4 separate regions of the Homo sapiens genome follow, and all the other regions are linked to region 1. The links are contacts of gene promoters, found by promoter capture Hi-C in human tissues and cell types (Jung and others, 2019). All regions are on one chromosome and are shown on one strand. Each heading gives the region's core, a stretch centred on a gene start or on the middle of the fragment in contact. The rest is flanking DNA. Distances are from core to core; before and after follow the strand shown. Region 1 holds the start of EML6 (EMAP like 6). Region 2 overlaps EML6 (EMAP like 6). Region 3 overlaps EML6 (EMAP like 6). Region 4 overlaps SPTBN1 (spectrin beta, non-erythrocytic 1).

Region 1 (3,493 bases), core at 953-3,452:
GTTACAATTGTAAGTGGCTGACTCAGACTTACTCCTCCAACTCATTTAACAGTCTGGTACAGCATGGGGGTCATTAGTTATACTAAAGATAATTTAGGAAATGAATATGTTCCATCCATTTCTATTTAAGAGACTTCTTTTCAATACATTTGTACATTTTCTCTGGAAAGTGTCTCTTCCTTTCTAGACCACTGCCACTATCTCTAACGCAGCCTCAAGCACTACCCCAGACTTCTAATACCTCATGCTTTGATTACTGCTTTCATTGCTATTCCCTTATTTTTATTCAAAAAATCAATGACTCCATTATTTTAAGGATACAGCGCAAACCCCTATGCTGAGCTCCATCTACAATCTAACCTTTCATGTGTCCTCTTGATCTTATATGAATTCTCCCTTGCACCAAACTGGGTATTCTCTTTAGTGTTCTCTAAATCCACTTTTCTGCATCTACACTTTTGTTTATTCCCTAAACGCATGTAGAACGCTCTTTCAATTTATCTTTACTTATCTCAATTCTATCTATATTTCCTAGTTCCTCCATGAAACTTTTCCTGATGTATTTTATCTGGAAAAACTCTTCCTCTTCTGAATTCTTATATAGAACTTACTGGCCAGGCACAGTGGCTCATGCCTGTAATCCCAGCAATTTGGGAAGCCGAGGCGGGCAGAACACCTGAGGTCGGGAGTTGGAGACCAGCCTGGCCAACAGGGCGAAACCCTGTCTCTACTAAAAATACAAAAATTAGCTGGGCGTGGTGGTGCGTATCTGTAATCCCAGCTACACAGGAGGCTGAGGCAGGATAATCGTTTGAACCCAGGAGGCGGAGGTTGCAGTGAGCCAAGATCACGATATTCTAGCCTGGGCAACGGCCTGTTTTGTCTCAAAACAAAACAAAACAAAAAGAACAACAAAAACTTACTGTCTTTATATAATTCATTTGGCACTGTTTTATGGCACGACATCATTGATCAACTATATTTTTGCTTCTATCTCAAACCTTTCTCAGGCCGTGTTTTTGTTTTTGGCAGTGTTCTTGTTGCCTAGCACAGTGCCATCTCACTTATTTGTTGATTCTGTTTCCTTAAAAACAAAGATGAGACCAATTCAAATCCTCATTACTGCGGGCAGCAACAAATCATCCAAACTCTGGCACTTCCAGTTCTTTCGAGCTTTCCTACCAGGTCGGAGGGTTGTCTTAAAACTTGAGGGAGATGAACTGAGTAAGCGATTACACTGAAAGCATGGGAGGGAAAGGACGTTCCAAACGTCCAATCCATCATCCTTTTGCAGCCTCTTAGTCACTGGGATTTTGAAATCTCTTTCCAAAGACTAGCTATGGCCCTAAATTGGAAATAGGCTACTTGAGAACACAGTGGATTCATAGTTCATCTCGGGCAGTTTTAGGAGAAATGCCACCAGCTTCTGCGTTTGAAGGCCAAGGTTAGCTGTTCATGGCGTGAGCACCTTCCTGCTTCCAACCTCCGGTTATCTGTAAATACCCAAGTCCTCTAATTTAGGACGCAGGTCATGGGAAGACGCTGGTTCTTAGGGCAGAAGTGAGCTCACATTCCCAGCATTTTTCTTAAACTTGGCAGAACTGCACTTTAACAAATTAAAATCCATGTGAATGAAAAGGAAAACTTAAGTAGGAAACAAACTTAAGCTTGAGTCAGTTACAGCATGGTGAGGATGTCGGTTACAGCAACACTCAGAGACCGATGAAGGAGAAATTCCAGTGGTGGGCTGGGAGACCGTCTCCATTCCAACTCCACCGCTTTTCTCTACAGAGACCCACGCACGCCAGCTCCCGCCTCAGTCACAAGGGAACGCCCGCGTGGGCAGGCAATCGTCCTTGGTGAGCCGGGATCTCCTCACCCCGAGAGCCGCAGGCTCCGCTGACGCCGGTACAGGTCTCGCTGCGACTCCCTCTGGGCGCGCGGAATCCTGGGACTTGTGGTCCCTTCCGCGCGCTGTCCGCCCTAACCGGCGCAGAGAGGACTACACTTCCCAGGATGCGTCGGGGGAAGAGGCCACAGGGACAGGCAGAGGGAGGGGGCGGCCCCAGTCCTCCGGGGCGTCGCTGTTTCCAAGCGGCGAGATCTCGCCTAGTAACCGGCAGCTGAGGTTCACTAGCGCGGCGTTGTGGCCCCGCCCCCGGAGCCCCGGCTGGAGGAAGAACCTGTCTCCCGCGGCGCCCCAGTGACGAAGTCCATCCCCGGGTGCGGGAGGCGGGGAGGGGAGGGCAGGCAGAGGATTTCGCTCGCTCGCCCGCGCGGGATCCGGGACGCGCCGGTGGCGTCCGCTGGCAGCAGAGGTTAGAGGCAGAGAGCGCGCGGATGCTCCGCGGGCGAGGCTGGTTCGAGAGTGGGAGGAGTGCAGGGCGCCGCCAGGGCGGCAGTGCGCGCGGGCCGAACAGTCCTGAGGGCGGGCATCCCTCGCGCAGCGCGCCGACCCCCGGGACGTGTGCGTCTGTGGGGGGTTGCTGTCCCCCGGGTCCCTCGGGCGACCCCTCTCCACGCTGGGCTCAGGGCAGGACCCGGGATTCCGTGGGACCCGGTGTTTAGCGCAGAGGTTTCTGGGGAGAAGTACACGATTTTTGCCACTTGTTATTTGATTTCTCCTCGACCAGGAGCGTTTGTAGGTAGCGCACTCCCTCCGACTGCACTAGTGCCTCGTTTCTTCCGAGTAAGACAATCTTTCATGATGCGGATTGGAGTTGCTGATCAATGAGAGCTGCTAAGTTCTTTATGGCTTTCTCGGTGAAGAGAAGGTTCACGGAGGATATGATTATTAAACACACACATGAAAACTAATTGGAGCATCTAAAAAATGACCATTGCATATTCGCCCTCGCTTATTAGGGAAACAGCAAGCGTTCCTTCAAATCGCATCAGCAACTGCCAGGCAGCAGCATTTACGCATATTTCATATCATTAAGGAGATGGAACTGGAGAGAGAAAGCGGGAGTAGGGGACAATTTTTAAAAATACCCAACTTGGTTTAGTTTGGGGATAATTTTCTTGGATTGGGTGACTTATGCGAAAAATCTGTTTCTTTCTTCCTCGCTCTCGCTTCCTGGATATAGACTGTCAATTTCGGATCCAAAGACGGCGATGGCAGAGCTCACCCGGGTTGCCTGTCAAATCAAGGCTATCGCAGAATAAATCCCGCCGCCTGCCGCGAAGCCCCGGCGCACCGCAAACTTCAGTGAGCGAACTGGGTGATCGCTGTTGGGATATGCAGATTCCTGATGTAAAAGGCGGGGTGGCCCCCCCGAGAGCCTCTCCCGGGGGCCGGAGCCCGCAGGTGCAGTGAGGCGCGCGCGCCGGTGCCGGCGCCCCCAGAGCCGCCTTGCCCGGGTAGAGGGAGCCCGGCGCCCGGCGGGGTCTGGCGGCCGCACACCGGCGGCGGCGGCTTGTCTGCGGCGGCTGCAGCGGATGATGGTGGCGGCCGGCCCGCTGGGCTGTGCCTGTGTGTCGCCGCGGAAAT
Region 2 (3,092 bases), core at 319-2,818, 170 kb after region 1:
GTAAAGTGTAACCCACACCATGTTGACAAACTGGTTACAGTTGGGATAAAACACATCAAATTCTGGCAACAAGCAGGTACTGTCGTTTGGGTTTATCATTTATGTGATTGAGAGCTTTACCCTAGCTGGAAAGAAAAACAAAACAAACTGTTGCTACTACCTCGCTTGTCTCTGCAATCTAAAATAAAAATGTGCCTAAAAAAATTATCTCCCAAGTTCGCTTAGAACGCTTGAAGCTTAGAACACTCTATATGACGCTATGCATATTCATCAATACCTAGAAAGCTTTGGAAAATGTTCTGCTGTGAAAATAATCATTTTTATATTTAGTCATCTGTTCTGAAAGCAGTAATTATGTTAGACTACTGCACAGGAAATAAAATAATCATTTTGGTTGAGTGAATAAAATTTTATCTATTTGGATGGTTCCTTTATTTATCTATTACTGAATTTAAACCTGAATTAAACCCTGAGTCTGCCCACAAATAGGTGGTCCAATAAATATTGGTGGATTTAATGTTGATAATAATGATGAGTAAATAAGCATGAGAAAACATAGAGGATATCTCATTCTTCTCACTAATAAGTCAGACTTAATACAATTGAATCTGAATTCTTAGTATCAGCTTTGGTGCCAAGCCCTAACTTATTATGCACAAAATGTGAATAAGGTTCTGTTCCAGTGCATTTTGCTTTTAAAAGAAGGTAATGCCACCCAGTATGTCTGGAGAGCCAGCCTGTGTGTAGCTGTCTTGAATAAAGCTGGGTTTCTCAGTGACAGGGAGTGTGGGGAAATGTGAATGTGTAAGGGACAAATCTAATGGCTTGTCCCGTATACTACCTTTTCCTACAAAACAATTCTTTTTTCTCACCCCAAAATAGCTGTTATAAATAAGCAGAGCATATATAACATGCTTATATTTTACATTTACAGTCAGTACTATTTTTATCGTTTTTGGTCAGCATTCATGAAGACTTTGCTTGCTCCTTCAGGCACTTAGTCACTCTTTCTCTTGGCTGACACAGAACTTGTGCTGAGCCTCAGTTAGACGCATGTCTTGGACTGAGATGCATATTGATTGCTCTCTCCAGCCAGACTCTGAGTTCCTTGAATACAGGAACCCTCTTTTCATCTTCATATCCCAACAGTGAGCGCTGCACTTACCACATGTAGGGATTCAGTAAACACTGAGTTAATGAATAAATGAGAAATATTCTTAGAATATTTTTGTTCATGATGTTCTCTGTCACTTTTAGACATCTTTACATAAATACCTAATGAGAGACACCAGGTTTCTCATGGAAGTAGTCCTTCTACATGCTTATAGGAAGTGCCAGATTTTATAAAGTAATAACTGTTCTTGGTCCACTCTAGGTGGGGGCTTCACTTCTAAAAGAGGAACTTTTGGAAGCGTTGGAAAATTGGAAACAATGATGTGTGTTTCTTACGGACGAATGGAAGATCTAGTGTTCTCAGGAGCAGCTACTGGAGATATTTTTATTTGGAAAGACATTCTACTACTGAAGACAGTGAAAGCTCATGATGGGCCTGTGTTTGCTATGTATGCACTGGATAAGGTATGGCCTGTGTATCAGCATTCATTTTCCTCATCAGCCTTCTAAAATTATAAGGTAGTCTTAGGATGGCCCAAGAGGATGCCTGTATCTAAAACAGGCCTGTCTGAATTAGGAAGTAGTTGTCATAAAGCTCAGTCAAGAGACAATAGGGAGGAAAGCAAAGATATTTTTATAATTTCGTTTACAGTTGTTTCTTTATATGCAACTTCTCTGCACTTTTTCCACACATGCTCTTCCTGGCGCCCACTCATGAGAGTCCCTTAAGAAGTGCCAGGATAAATGTGGACACTTAGCAGCAGAAGAGTCCTGAGAAATACTTCAGCATTGTCTTCCTCCTTGGTGACACAATGGGCAGAGACCTGAAAGTACCAAATGGTTACATTATTGTTCCAGACGTCCATTTGCTACGATAAATTTGCATCCATAACCAACTTGCTCCTGTGTAGAAAGGCTCAGCTTTAACAAGAGTGTTAGAGTGAAGGCTGTTCATTGGCCATATTACAATTCAAGCTCATCATAATTGCCCTGGTCTGTCTACTTGCCTTGCAGTGTCCCTCTACAAAGATTACACTTACCTTCTCTCAGTCTGTTTTTGCTGCTGTAACAGAATTTCTGAGACTAGGTACTTTATAATGAACAGAAGTTTATTGGCTCACAGTTCTGGAGGCTGGGAAGTCCAAGAGTAAGGGGCTGCAACAGGGAAGGGCCTTCTTGCTGTGTTACCCAATGGCTGAAGGGCCAATAAGAGTGGGAGGGTCCGAAATCATCCTTTAGTAATGAACCCACTCCTACAATAATGGCATTAATCCATTCATGAGGGCAGACCCCTCATGGTCTAGTCAACTCTGAAAGTTCCCACATCTTAGTACTGTTACAGAGGCAGTTAAATTTCAACATGAGTTTTGGAGGGGGCTAATATTTAAACCATAGCACCTTCAGTGTTTTAAAACACTTTATTCAATCAACTTGCCAGCAAATATCAACTTCTTTTCAGTTATTTCCAGGTTGCTGGTAGTACCACTTCATCTGTGCCCTCTGACCTCCAGTTGAAGCCACCTACTACTCCTAACCCATGTCTCAATTTTCTTTTACCTGTCCTTAGGCAAATGTGTTGATTCTACTACAAAAGTAGGTTCTTGTTAGGTATGCAACTGTAACGGTTGTTTTGCTGGCAAAGGTGTTGTTTTGTTTTGTTTTGTTTTTTTATTGGTACATATGTTTTTGGTTAAACTGCAAGTATTAGAAAAGATTAAAGAAGAAGAAAGAATTTCTGTAGGCCCAGAAGTAGATATGGTGTAACTTGTTTAAGCTCTTGTTGTTTGGTAAATTAAGCTGCAAAATCATGAGAAAAGACAAGGATATCACAATATAATATATTGCATTTTAATTTAATTTGGGGATTGAATTTTCCTGGGTACAAATTCTATATAAGAATAAGGATATTTAGTGTTATACACTTGGAAATATTATTTCTTTGTAAACTTCATAAAAATGCATTAAATTAAAAGTTGCTA
Region 3 (3,600 bases), core at 733-3,232, 220 kb after region 1:
CCCCTTCTCTCTCCCCTCTCTCTCTGCCTCCCCCTTCTCTCTCCCCTCCCCCTCCCCTTTGGATTTCCCAAGACATTCTAAAACCATTGGAGCATTTTATGCCACATTTTGGAAGCTGAAGAAAGCTGTTTCCTCCAAGGACACTTTGAACATTGTCTGATGAACACGACTCAAAACAACTTCAAACTTGAATTTCTTGGCTAGTTGGAACTGAGTTTCCCCACACTCACACCCACACCCACACCCCTCTTTATAGAAACTGGTTGGAACGACTTGGTTTCTCACAGGCTGTCCAAGCCTCACTCCCCAGTTGGCTCTCATGTTGTACTCATCTTGGGTTGCAACTGACTCGTGACCTCAGTGGTTTCAGAAGCTTCCCTGAGCACTTTGGCCCTGAATGCTCTTACACATTTCAGGTCATTGTGTGCTCTGCTCCACCTCTTGCTCTGTCAGCCCAGTGCCTTGGGGAGGGGGAAAGGAGGGACAAGTACCCAGGCATTGGCCTGCCTTGCGGGTCTGTGCAGGGCAAGAGCCCGTGTCAGGATAAGACTCCCCACATCTTTAGTTGAGTCTAAGCTTTCTCTTCAGCAGCCCAGCGCTGGGCAGTGGGATGACAGCAGGAATTGGCCTTCCCATGATCCTGCCCTGCCCACAGAATGTGCCAACTGTTTCCACAGGGGGTACAGGGTTGTGACTCTCCCCACAGGCACTGAAGAGCAGGGCCGACTTGTTACTCAACACCAAGCCCCAGGCTGGAGTTCACAGCCTCTCCCTGGGCTTCCTGCCTTCACTCTGTCTTCTTGGCAGGCTTCTCCTGCTCTCCAGAGCTTCGGCCTGTGTGCCACCCTCTCTCCTGATTATCCAGTTTGTTTGCTGTCTTGCCAGGCTCCCTCCTTAAATTTCTTGCCAATGGAAGCTCTTTCTCCTTTGTTCCCTGACCCTGCCCCCCTGCCCATTCTCCTCAAAGCCTACTTGCCCCACCAGGCCCCTTTGTGTCTCTGCTCCTCCCACCTCCAGTCTCTCACCCCCTCACCTTCCCAGATCTTGGCCCCACTGGGTCTCCCTGCCAATGCCGGGTTGTGCCCACAGCCTTCCTCGCACTCCTGTCCTGTGCCAGCTGGGAATGACCAACTCTAATGAGCTGATTGGACTGAAAGTGAGTGAATGTCCTCATGCCTCCACTCCTTCCCACCTCAGCAAAGCTTTTCAGAGTCCCATTTCTGATGGAATCTGAATCTAGAAGGATTTAGATCCACGGAAAACTGTTAAACCTCCAGTGTTTGGCTACGTGTGAAGTCTCTGGCAGTCCCTCCCACATCTGATGTTATGAACACTGTTTATAGATGCCTGGAAAGAAGCTTTTAATACTTGTATTGTGTTTTAACTTGCTTTCCTTTGGAGGCAGGGAATTGTCAAGTAAGTATTCACACCGCTCTGGAGACAAACACAGGTGTTTGGTGAACATCCAGTACTAAGTGTTCACGCAGAATCCACAACCGCGAAGGGTCAATACTTAAAATCCGCTGAATTTGCCACAATGCAGGTTTCTTCCCCTTGCTCCTCTCATCTTCAGTTTTGAAGCAATACAGCTGTAAACATATGCTTGCGAAATGAGAAAGAAACATTGAGATTGCTTTACCTTTCGGTTTTTTTCTGAAAATCAAGGTGAAAAAAAAAAGCATCGGATTGCGTCTGTGTATATATATACAATCTCCTGTATATATAAATACACGGTGTTTGTGCTTGTACGCATACTCTATATTCACTGTATAATATATTACATATTATACAACCTGTGTGTCCCCTGAAATCGAGCCCTGTGTTTATCCTCAAATAATGCCTTATGAGCCATGCCATAGTTCCAGTGTCCTCTTGCTCTCCTCATAGCCCCTGGCTTGCTTTTGTCATACACTTAAACGTTCTTAGGTGAAAGAAGAAACCCACGGATTTCATTTGAAAGTCCCACTAAAACAGAAGAAAGAGCAGATGTCCTGGGAAGCGATAATTAATGTGAAGGAAGTGTCTAATTGTGAGAACTGGCATGCCCCCAGTCTCCCGATTTTGCTCAATTTGGTGGCGATGATGTCAGCCGGGGGTGTCGTTTTGCAGAGATGTGCTGTCTACCCATTCTTCAGTGGTGATTATAATACCGTTTGGTCCAATTATCACTTATGATTACATAACGTGTTTTGATTGAAGAGTTTCTGAGAAAATAAAGGTACCCTGTCTTCCCCTGCACACAAAAAGAACCCCCGCAAGCCATTCGAGCAGGCAGGCTGACCTACCAAGAAACACTGGGAATTATTAGGCTAAATTATGAGTTGAACTTGATTTGGAAACAAAGTATCCATTGTACATAACTCCCCACGACATCCAGGAAGATGTCATTGTTTTTCTGACAGCAAGTTTCTCCCCAGCACACTCTAAGCAGAGTCCCCGGGCGCATTCGTAAAGTCACGGAGAGTGTGCGGGAAGCATTGACAAAGCTTCCTTTTCTCTCCCTATTCTGTAGGCGCTTTAGTGCAGAGTTTGCCCAGAGACGCCAGGGTATGAGCTTTCTGAATTTGTAGACTGGTGCACTCTTTCATTTCTGTTTTAGTTCTTTGCTGGCATGCTGGGGAAGCATGGTGTGTGCCACACAGGAATGTCTGTTCACTTGGAAAATGCTTGTGCATGAATGAGGTGGTTGCTAATGCGGCTCTAAACTGTACTAAGTTTCTCACTTGGCTTTGTTTGCTGCTTTCAAGGGGATCAAGGTAATCCTTCTCTTTGCATATCCCGGGAGCAATAACTAATTACTTTGGAACATGCGGTGGGAGCTGGTACAGTTCTTTCTCGACCCATCCATAGAGAAATCTGATTTAAGGAAACCCCACGTCACCAAGAACTGGCGTACTCCTCTAGGATTCCATTAGGGCTTACACATTATAAAATCTCTTCATTAAATTTGGAGGCCCCAGACCCCAAAACGGAGGCGGGAAAAGCAACCTTTGGTGTGGTAGCAGCTGAATGCAGACCCGAGTCCTGAGGCGAGGGCGGAGTGGGAGGCGGGAGTGCTGTCTGTCTCCTGTCCCTCTGCTTCCTGCCTGCCTGTCTGAGAAGTGAGGCCGACCTAGGCACTTGGCCTGTGGTCCTTAGGGCCCTTTCCGCAGCCTGGCTTGTAAGTGCCACTTCACGCCACACCATGGCCATCGACAACTTAATTCTGAACAACATGAGCACATCCCTGTCTGAAAAAGGTCAGCAAGTCCAGGAAATGTGGCCTCCCGCCCCTCATGGTCAGGCTTCTCCTTGGTTTTGAACCAAGCCCCTCTTGTTTCAAGCCCACATGTTCTTCCTGCTCCCCCTGCTCCCAGGAGAAGGTTAAGCAGAGGGAGGAGGGCTGACCCTGACCACGGTGCCTCAAGCGTGGGGAGGCCCAACCCAGTGCCTGTGAATTCAGGCTGGGTCCCGTGGCAGGCGGGGAGTGAGAGAGGAGGGCAGGACTGAACAGATCCAAGTGGAGGGGCCTTTGAGGCGGGAGGAGAGAGGAGGCCGGCACTGGCCTAGACAGGCCACACCGGGAAGGCAGCCTTGCAGCCCTTGTTCAATGCTGTGCTT
Region 4 (3,606 bases), core at 334-2,833, 220 kb before region 1:
TGTGTGCTTGAATAATTTGAATCCTCTCTTGGCCCTGGGACCTTCCCCGTGCTACATGTGCTTTCGGAGGTTGTGAGGAAAGGGCTGACCAGGCCATGGACCTGTCCCAGAGCCGGCACCCTTGAGCATGGCTGCTCAGACAGCAGTGAAAATTTGTCTTAGAAATTTGAAGTTGCTTTTGAAGCTTTTTGGTCAGTGAGAGAACTTAAAAATTCTCATGTAAATATAATTTAAAAAATATAGATGACTCAATCTACAAGAGCTTATCTGTTTGGTTTTTTTTTTTCTACTTATAGTTTACATTTGAAAAAATTTACCACTTGATGAACTGAGTAATTTTTTCTTCTTGATAGTAGAGGAATTGGTAGGGAAAGTGCTTCTAATACTCTTCGAAGCTGAGAAAATTTTAAGTATAAAGTTTGTTCATTAAACATTTGTGTATTGTTGTCTGGGAGCTAGACACTATATTTAGGGATACATTGATGAAAAAGAGAGAAATACCCAATAGTTCTTGGAGAGTACAGTATACTTTCAGGCAAGATAGTCATTTAATAAATACACAGGTAATTATTTAAACACCATCGTAGTGCGTGCTATGAAAAAACAACAAACCAGTAGGAACATAGAACAGGAGAGGCCCTGGGCTGGGACTAGGGGTTTCAGAAGAGTCTCTCCAGAGAAAGTAAAGTTTAGGTTGATCTGGTTCTCTCTCTTTTTTTTTTTTTTGAGCAACAAGACTGTTTATTTCACCTGGGTGCAGGCAGGCTGAGTCCAAAAAAGGAGTCAGCAAAGGGTGGTGGGATTATCATTAGTTCTTACAGGTTTTGGAATAGGCGGTGGAGTTAAGAGCAATGTTTTGGGGGCAGGGGGTGGATCTCACAAAGTACATTCTCAAGGGTGGGGAGATTATATAGAACCTTCTTAAGGGTGGTGGAGATTACAAAGTACATTGATCGGTTAGGGTGGGGCAGGAACAAATCACAATGGTGGAATGTTATCAGTTAAGGCTATTTTCACTTCTTTTGTGTATCTTCAGTTGCTTCAGGCCATCTGGATGTATACGTGCAGGTCACTGGGGATATGATGGCTTAGCTTGGGCTCAGAGGCCTGACATTCCTGTCTTCTTATATTAATAAGAAAAATAAAATAGTGGTAAAGTGTTGGGGTGGGGAAAATTTTGGGGGGTGGTATGGAGAGATAATGGGCAATGTTTCTCAGGGCTGCTTTGAGCAGGACTGGGGCAACATGGAAACCTAGTGTGGGAGAGATGAAGCTGAAGGAAGATTTTGTGGTAAGGGGTGATAATTGTCGGGTTGTTAGAAGAAACATTTGTCGTATAGAATGATTGGTGATGGCCTGGATATGGTTTTGGATGAATTGAGAAACTAAATGGAAGACACAAGGTCTGAATAAGAGAAGGAGAAAAACAGGTATAAAAGGACTAAGAATTGGGAGGACCCAGGACATCTAATTAGAGTGTCCAAGGGGGGTTAGTGTAATTACTTGCTTGGTTGGCAAGCTTTTAGGCTCTATCTTTGAGTTTTTTTTAATGTTGTCATATACCAGGCCAGATTGATTTAGGTAAAAATAGCACTCTTCATTTAAAAATATAGAGTCCCCTTTTTTTTTTTTTTAGCAGTAAGTCGAGACCTTTGTGATTTTGGAAGAAAGAGAAATGCAAAGCCAGCAATTGTTTGTTAAAGAAGGATTAGAAACGGCTAGGAGAGAGTAACTGAGATTGATAGTGTGATAGAGATAGCTGGGGAGAGGTAGAGGGTGGCATAAGAACGGGAATGAGAATAAGAGTAAGTATAAAAGTAAAGAATAGGACTTCATCAGGGTGAAAGTATTGGAGGGTACCTTGCCACTGAAGATCTTCTATCCACTTAAAGAGAGACTTAAGGGTGGCAGTTTGAGGAAAAACCAGGTGCCACTGAATACCAACAGCCTGAGAAACTGCTTGGGTGATTTGACTAGTAAAGGCCGGTCCGTTATCGGACTGTATAGAGGTGAGAAGGCCAAACCGAGGAACTATGTCTGACAGAAGGGAATAAATGACCACGGTGGCCTTCTTAGACCCTGTGGGAAAGGCCTCTACCCATCCAGTGAAAGTGTCTACCCAGACCAAGAGGTATTTTAGTTTCCTGACTCGAGGCATGTGAGTAAAGTCAATTTGCCAGTCCTGGGCGGGGCAAATCCCCGAGCTTGATGTGTGGGGAAGGGAGGGGGCCTGAGAAATTCTTGAGGAGTAGTAGAATAGCAGATGGAACACTGAAAAGTGATTTCCTTGAGGATAGATTTTTGCGATGGAAAGGAAATGAGAGGTTCTAAGAGGTGGGCTAGCGGGTTCTAAGAGGCGGGCTAGCGGCTTGCAACCTACATGGAAGAGGTTATGAAATGACGAATAGAATGGGCCTGTGAGACTGGAAGGAGATTTTTCTTTGGTCCAAGAACCATTTGCTTTGTGTGGGAAGAGATGGGTGGAAGTTTCAGCGAGGGAGTAGGTGGGAGTGGCCAGATGAGAAGGAGGAAAACTGCCCTGAGGGATAGAAGTTGGAACGCTAGCTGCTTTTTTAGCTATCTTATCAGCATAGGCGTTGTCCAGAGCAATGGGATCTGAAGCCTTTTGATGGCCTTTGCAGTGAATGACTCCGGCTTTCTTTGGAAGTAAAGCAGCCTTGAGAAGAGTTCTTATTAAAGAGGCATTATTGATGGAGGACTCTTGCATAGTGAGGAAACTTCTTTCTGCCTATATAACAGCATGGTGGTGCAGGATATGGAAGGCATATTTAGAGTCAGTATAAATATTGATGGGTAGTCCCTTTGCAAGAGTGAGGGCTCAAGTTAAGGCAGTGAGTTCAGCTTGCTGAGAGGTAATGGAGGGGGGCAGAGCGGTAGCCTCAGTGATAGATGTGGAAGATACTATAGCATAGCCTGCCTTTGCTGGTGAGTGGCGATTAGGCCTGGTGGAACTGCCATCAATAAACCAAGTGTGATCAGGGTGAGGAACAGGAAAGAAGGAAACATGGAGAAAGGGAGTGAATGTCATGTGGATCAGAGAGATACAGTCATGGGAGTCAGATGTATCCGGAATAGTGTGGGAGGCTGGATTGAAGTCCGGGCCAGGAACAATGGTAACTGTGGGAGACTCAACAAAGAGTGAGTACAGCTGAAGGAGCCGGGGAGCAGAAAGTATATGCATCAGGTGTGAGGAAGAAAATAGATTTTGGAAGTTATGAGAACTATAGAGAGTGAGTTGAGCATAGTTTGTGATTTTGAGGGCCTCTAAAAGTGTTAGGGCAGCGGCAGCTGCTGCACGGGGACATGATGGCCAGCCTAAAACAGTAAGGTCAAGTTGTTGATCTGGTTCTCATTTATCCATTGTCCTTATCTTTAAAATCACAAGATATTGAGAGTTAGCAGTGCCATTGCTAATGAGATTAGAAAGCCTTCATTAATTACAGGATCCTTGGATTGAGATTGGAGTTTAATGGCACAGAAGGCAGCTTTAGGGTTCACTTGGTGAATTAATCTGCTCAGGCTGCCATAACAGAATGCCACAGACTGTATGGATTAAACAACAGAAATTTATTTTCTCACTGTTCT

The links. Contacts are between HindIII fragments. The study calls those that stand out against the background at their distance.
Region 2: a fragment that was not itself captured here is called in contact with the fragment with the promoter of EML6 in region 1 in 2 of the 25 tissues and cell types used here (hippocampus and mesenchymal stem cells).
Region 3: a contact is called between a fragment that was not itself captured here and the fragment with the promoter of EML6 in region 1, in 2 of the 25 tissues and cell types used here (hippocampus and psoas muscle).
Region 4: a contact is called between a fragment that was not itself captured here and the fragment with the promoter of EML6 in region 1, in 1 of the 25 tissues and cell types used here (spleen).

Annotation. Positions count from the first base shown.
Region 1 is chr2:54,721,460-54,724,952 of GRCh38, forward strand. It overlaps EML6 (EMAP like 6), which reads left to right and starts at 2,203. Exons shown (of 42, transcript NM_001039753.4): 1 at 2,203-2,318; 2 at 3,090-3,493. RefSeq lists an enhancer at 1,736-1,955 and silencers at 2,096-2,585, 3,257-3,406. The HindIII fragment of the contact is 12,546 bases long and covers 1-3,493 here.
Region 2 is chr2:54,891,079-54,894,170 of GRCh38, forward strand. It overlaps EML6 (EMAP like 6), which reads left to right. Exons shown (of 42, transcript NM_001039753.4): 18 at 1-76; 19 at 1,376-1,578. Among named protein-coding and RNA genes, the nearest start is that of EML6-AS1, 140 kb to the left of the region's middle. The HindIII fragment of the contact is 3,331 bases long and covers 1-3,092 here.
Region 3 is chr2:54,945,259-54,948,858 of GRCh38, forward strand. All of the region lies in intron 28 of EML6 (EMAP like 6), which reads left to right. Among named protein-coding and RNA genes, the nearest start is that of RTN4, 100 kb to the right of the region's middle. The HindIII fragment of the contact is 3,016 bases long and covers 475-3,490 here.
Region 4 is chr2:54,506,183-54,509,788 of GRCh38, forward strand. The region is part of intron 1 of SPTBN1 (spectrin beta, non-erythrocytic 1); the gene reads left to right. It also overlaps the pseudogene C9orf85P1. Among named protein-coding and RNA genes, the nearest start is that of SPTBN1-AS1, 51 kb to the right of the region's middle. The HindIII fragment of the contact is 3,437 bases long and covers 1-3,302 here.